2 separate regions of the Homo sapiens genome follow, and region 2 is linked to region 1. The links are contacts of gene promoters, found by promoter capture Hi-C in blood cells and fetal thymus (Javierre and others, 2016). All regions are on one chromosome and are shown on one strand. The core of a region is centred on a gene start or on the middle of the fragment in contact, and the rest is flanking DNA. Distances in the headings are between cores, read along the strand shown. Region 1 holds the start of TSFM (Ts translation elongation factor, mitochondrial). Region 2 overlaps RAB5B (RAB5B, member RAS oncogene family).

Region 1 (2,923 bases), core at 325-2,824:
ACGTCTACTATAGTGCACCATAGTGTCCTAAGGCAGGCCTTCATATTCACTCACCACTCACTGACTCACCCAGAGCAACTTCCAGTCCTGCAAGCTCCATACATGATAAGTTCCCTATGGAGATGTATCGTTTTTTATCTTTTATGCCTATTTACTGTACTTTTTCTATGTTTAGATACACAATACTTACCACTGTGTTACAACTGCCTACAGTATTCAGTCCAGTAACATTTTGTAACGGTTTGTAGCCTAGGAGCAGCTGGCAATTCCATATAGCCCAGGTTGTAGTACAATATACCATCTAGGTTTGTGTAGGTACTCTATGATGTGCATAAGCCAAAATCTCCTAACGACGCCATTTCTCAGAATGTATCTTCCTATTAAGAGACGCATGACCGTACAGGCAAAAACTACACAACTCTGAAAGATTAAGATGTCTAAAGTCAGCCGGGCGCGGTGGCTCACTCCTGTAATCCCACCACTCTGGGAAGCCGAGGCGGGCGGATCACCTGAGGCCAGGAGTTCGAGACCAGCCTGGCCGACACGGCGAAACCCCATCTCTACTAAAAATACAAAAAAAAATAAAAAATAAAAAATAAAATAGCCGGGTGTCGTGGCGCACGCCTGTAATCCCAACTACTCAGGAGGCTGAGGCAGGAGAATCGCTTGAACCCGGGAGGCGGAGGTTGCAGTGAGCCAACATCGTGCCATTGCACGCCGGCCTGGGCCACAGAGCAAGACTCCGTCTGAAAAAAAAAAAAAAAGTCTAAAGTCAGACAGTGTGGGGGCCCCACAATTTGACTCCTGAACAATCTGACTCCAAAGCTCACACAAACCCTTTCAGCTCCAGGCAACAAGAAACACCGTAACAGTCTGGTTTGTTAATCCTGGGATACTCAACTGCTTTCAAATAAGACAAAGTCAAGGCCAAGGTTGTCATTTAAGCCAGATTTCCACTTAGGACTGTGCCATTATGGTCACTGAAGAGCAGTCTAACTTTATGCTCCCCAGCGTGACCGCCCCAAGAGTCTGAGGTCGAGCTCTAGTACTCCGCCCTGCACCCCTCCACACACACACCTGTTTGAGGTCCCCGCCACAAGTCTCCAGAGCTTTCTTGCAATTTACAAAGGAGTAGCCTGTTTTCCGCCGCAGCTTCATGAGGAGCTCCTTGCTGGAGGCCGAGGCAGACAGACGGGGCCCAGCATAAAATGTGTGCCTTGGCTGGGGCGACTGACGCAGAAGAGACCCAGCCTAGATGAGATAAGAAAGGGATGAGGAGCAGGAAGCAGCAAACTCCAGAGGGTGAAGGGTACACGGGCAGGGAAGCGACCTTAGGGAGCGGACAGTGTGCAAAGGGGGGTGCACCGGGGCTGGACTGGGCAGAGGCAATGCTGTCGGGGAAGGTGAGATGGAGTCAAACGAGGTTGGGAGGAAGGGAAAGGTACAGGCGCACAGGAGAGCTGCAGGGACAGCAGGTCGGTACCAGCACCAGGACTTCTCACCGGGTAGCTCCCGGTCCGCGCGACCAGAAACACGCGCAGCGACCGCAGCAGCGACATCTCTCTAGCCGCGATAAACACCCTCCGGCGGGCGCACTGGTGAGGCAACAAACCTACGGCGCGGCGGAAGGGCCAGAATTCTCCAGCGGAACGCACCAAACGAGTATGGTGCCACCTGCTGGCCGGAGGAACACAGTCCTCGCCTCTACTTGATTTCTTGAGACGACACATTTCATACGGGAATTACCCCCCACCTCCCACCCCAGGTAAAATAACAGAAACCAAGAAATAAAGTCGTCACAAAACAACAACACAAGAAATGTGGGTAACATTTTATGTTTATTTTCAATGCGCATTTATATTCATTATCCATTTATGACTCACAACAAACTTGTGTGGTTGGTGAATGGGTTCGAGAATTTGTCCAAGGTCACCTAGGAAGGCAGGGGTGGAATCCATTAAACAAAGCGAGTAAATATTTATTGAATGAGCACAATATCTGTTGAACACCTGTTGTGTGCCAGGAACTGTGTTAGGCTTCAGGGGTTTAGACAGGAGTAAACCACAGCCCTACCCTCCAAGGTAATTTAATGGTGAGAAAATGAGAATCACAAATGTCCATGCAAGACAAATTAAGGTCCCATAAGATGAACCTTATGGGTCTCAGGGAGAAAGAAATCACATTCAAGCAAGAGGCTCAGGAAAGAGGCAAAGAATAATGAAGATTTTGACAGGTGGCAATAGCCTTTCAGGCAGAGGATTATCATAAAGAGTGTGAAAGAAGTCAGAAAACTTTAGTGTGGTTTTAGAGAACAAAGAGTACATCTTTTGTAATTTGGCCAGAGGTCCAATACACGTAGCAAAGGAGTAGGAAATGCAATAGGAAGGTAATTTTGGATCACATGGACACAGACTAAGTACCAAGCAGAGGAGCTTGTTCTTGCTTCTACAGGAAGTGAAAGCTAATCAGAGCTAATTTTGGAAGATCACAAGAGTTTGCGGAATGGACTGAAGGAGAAAGCATGGAAGCAGGGAGTCCAGAGAAGGTGACTATGTGCCTAAGCAGTAAGTAAAGAGAGCCCCAACCAGAAGTACCAATGTGGGAAGAGAAAAGAGGTTAAGGCAAAACACATTAGGAACTGTGTTAGGCTTCAGGGGATTAGAGATTAGGAAGGAAGGACTGATGAAGCTAAAGAAAAATCAAAGATGAAAAGAACTTAGTACTAGGTACAGTATTCTTCTGCACACAATGATGTTCCGTGATCAAGGCTCTAACTCTGGAAAGCATGAAGAAATACAGTCCAAAGGACAGCTCTGCAGCCTTAGCTTCAGAGCTAGGAGGACTTGACCCAGTTAGAGCCATGGTTCCACTAGACTCTATCTCTAAAAAGCAGGAAATGGGTGGTTTGAGGCTTCTTCCTTCT
Region 2 (3,059 bases), core at 53-2,552, 1.8 Mb after region 1:
AATGTAGGGTGGGAACGAGTATTGCCTTTCCACTCCCATGCAGCACAACAGCTAGGCAAAATCCTAGGTTCCCTCCCCTTAATTAATACCCCTTTGAGCCAGCTAGCCTAGATGCATAATTTAATGACAACTCCCTCAAGATGACCCCATGTCCACTCAGTCCAACACACAAATGTCAGAAAGCTTAATTATAGGGGAGAGGGTAAGTTAGTTGGGGGCTTTTGGGTTGTGACACTTGAATAGTCCCTTACCACAAATTTAATTGCTCCCTCCTTCCTGTTTTCACACTGGTACCCCCACAGCTGGTACCTCCCTAACCCTCTGCTCTGGAGTTTTCTCCTGACTCCTTTGAAAATCTCCTGGCTGTCATTAGGGTCACAGTGTTGCTGTATTTAACTTGGTGTAGAACTGGGGAATGAGACAATGAATGTCCTCTGTTGACGTTTTCAGAGAGGGCTGGTTTGGAAAAAAAGAGGTCCCAGGAACAGAGGAAGTGTTAGAGAGGAACTCCACGGGCCACCTTACTTCATACTCCACCATACGTTTGTTGGCCAGGTCAGCTTTGTTCCCTGCCAGGGCAATAACGATGCTAGGACTGGCCTGTCGCTGTAGTTCCTTCACCCATGTCTTTGCTCGGGCAAAGGTTTCCTAGGAAAACATGAAGAGAATGAGTAGGCTGGAATGACTGCCAATCCATATCCATCACCTTTTAAAATGAGTCTCAAAATTCACCTCTTCTAGGTGGTCTTCCCTCAGTGAAACCACAGGTCTCTGATAATTCATTATCTGTCTTCTTAGCACTTGGAAGCATAATTTGTACTCTTATTTGCTATTTCAAGAACCCGTTTTCTGCCCCCTTACCCCCTGCCCCAAACTAACTCCTCTAAATATAAGCAAGGACAGTCTTTTTTCTTTTTTTTTTGAGGCGGAGTTTTGCTCTGTCGCCGAGGCTAGAGTGCAGTGGCTCGATCTCGGCTCACTGCAACCTCCGCCTCCTGGGTTCAAGCGATTCTCCTGCCTCAGCCTCCCGAGTAGCTGGGACTACAGGCGCGCACCACCACGCCCAACTAATTTTTGTAATTTTAGTAGAGACGGGGTTTCACCATGTTGGCCAGGATGGTCTCAATCTCTTGACCTCATGATCCTCCCGCCTTGGCATCCTAAAGTGTTGGGATTATAGGCGTAAGCCACCATGTCCAGCCAACAAGGACAGTCTTCTTAGCTCACTTACCTGATTAGTAATGTCGTAAACCACGATTGCAGCTTGGGCACCCCTGTAGTACATGGGGGCTAAGCTGTGATATCGCTCCTGCCCAGCTGTGTCCCAGATCTCAAACTTCACTGTTGTGTCATCTAGACAAACGGACTGGGTGAGGAAGGCCGCTATGGATGAGAGAATGGAGGGGAAGATGCTGTAAGTGGGAGGATGAATGGGAACATCCCTCCCCCCCTTCAAAATGTAACTGCCCTACACTAAGACCAGTCACCACCCAGGATAGTCAGCTACAGGAAAAGGTTTTGAGTTCTCCTTACATGTAAGTCTTGAAACCAGGATTAAGACTGCCCTTGGCTAAGTCCTTCCTGCCAGAAATGTCACTAGCTAAGGAATGGGGGTACATCATAAACTAAGAGGGACAGAAGAACTGGCACTTATACGAGTCATCCTTCTTCTAACCAAAATAGGAGAATAACAAATGACAGAGAAAATAGCTTCAGATAAAAGTCACATCAAGAATTAATTAGAAGATTGGGCTGGGCACGGTAGCTCACGCCTGTAATCCCAGCACTTTGGGAGGTGGGGGCTGAGGCAGGTGGATCACCTGAGGTCAGGAGTTCGAGACCAGTCTGGCCAACACGGCAAAACCCGTCTCTACTAAAAATACAAAAATTAGCCAGGCGTGGTGGTGGACACCTGTAATCACAGCTACTCGGGAGGCTGAGGCTGGAGAATCCCTTGAACTTGGGAGGTGGAGGTTGCAGTGAGCCAAGATGGCGCCACTGCACTTCAGCCTGGGCAACAAGAGCGGAACTCCGTCTCAAAAAACAAACAAACAAACGCAAACAAACAAAAGAATTAATTAGAGGATTGGCTGGGCGCAGTGGCTCATGCCTGTAATCCCAGCACTTTGGGAGGCCAAGGCAGGTGGATGGCTTGAGGTCAGGAGTTCGAGACCAGCCTGGCCAACATAGTGAAACCCCGCCTCTACTAAAAACACAAAAGTTAACCAGGCATGGTGATGGACGCCTGTAATTCCAGCTACTTGGGAGGCTGAGGCAGCAGAAGTGCTTGAACTGGGGAAGCGGAAGTTGCAATGGGCAACCACTGCACCACTGCACTCCAGCCTGGGCAACAGGGTGAGACTCAGTATCCAAAAAAAAAAAAAAAAAAAAAAAGAATTAATTAGAAGATTTTAAAGCTTGATGGCAAGTCCCATCATTATCAATATTATTTGGCTGTTACTTTTTCATATAATCTGCTGCAGGTCCAGGAATACATTTCCAAGATGACTAATAAAAAGGGGAAAGAGGCCAGGCACGGTGGCTCATGCTTGTAATCCCAGCACTTTGGGAGGCCGAGGCGGGTGGATCACTTGAAGTCAGGAGTTTGAGACCAGCCTGGCCAACACGGTGAAACCCTGTCTCTATACAAATACAAAAATTAGCCGGGCATGGTGGTATGTGCCTGTAATCTCCGCTGCTCAGGAGGCTGAGGCACGAGAATCACTTGAACCTGGGAGGCAGAAGTTGCAATGAGCCAAGATTGCACCACTGCACTCCAGTCTGGGCGACAGAGACTCCGTCTCAAAAATAAATAAATAAATAAATAAAAATAACAAGGGGAAGGAATAATTTGGAAGTTCTCATAAAAGATCCTTTATTGAATTAGCACCCTATTTTGGGGTAGTAGTGGGGAAAAGGTAGCAAAGATGAGAAAGACAGACACCCTTTGTATTTTGCATTAGTTCCAGCCTCTATTTTACCAGATTTTTTTTTGTTTTTGAAACAGTCTCGCTCCTTCGCCTAGGATAAAATGCACTGGCGTGATTTTGGCTCACTGC

What was found. Contacts are between HindIII fragments. The CHiCAGO score rates a contact against its expected background, and 5 or more counts as called.
Region 2: a contact is called between a fragment that was not itself captured here and the fragment with the promoter of TSFM in region 1, in 1 of 17 cell types (monocytes). The highest score is 5.7, in monocytes.

What each region holds. Positions count from the first base shown.
Region 1 is chr12:57,781,438-57,784,360 of GRCh38, reverse strand. It overlaps TSFM (Ts translation elongation factor, mitochondrial), which reads right to left and starts at 1,574. Exons shown (of 6, transcript NM_005726.6): 1 at 1,503-1,574; 2 at 1,078-1,251. The coding sequence starts at 1,559. It overlaps EEF1AKMT3 (EEF1A lysine methyltransferase 3), which reads right to left. Exons shown (of 3, transcript NM_015433.3): 3 at 1,820-2,923. RefSeq lists enhancers at 1,521-1,590, 944-1,813. The HindIII fragment of the contact is 6,425 bases long and covers 1-2,923 here.
Region 2 is chr12:55,988,271-55,991,329 of GRCh38, reverse strand. It overlaps RAB5B (RAB5B, member RAS oncogene family), which reads right to left. Exons shown (of 6, transcript NM_002868.4): 3 at 1,232-1,383; 4 at 526-648. Among named protein-coding and RNA genes, the nearest start is that of SUOX, 7.5 kb to the left of the region's middle. The HindIII fragment of the contact is 2,234 bases long and covers 186-2,419 here.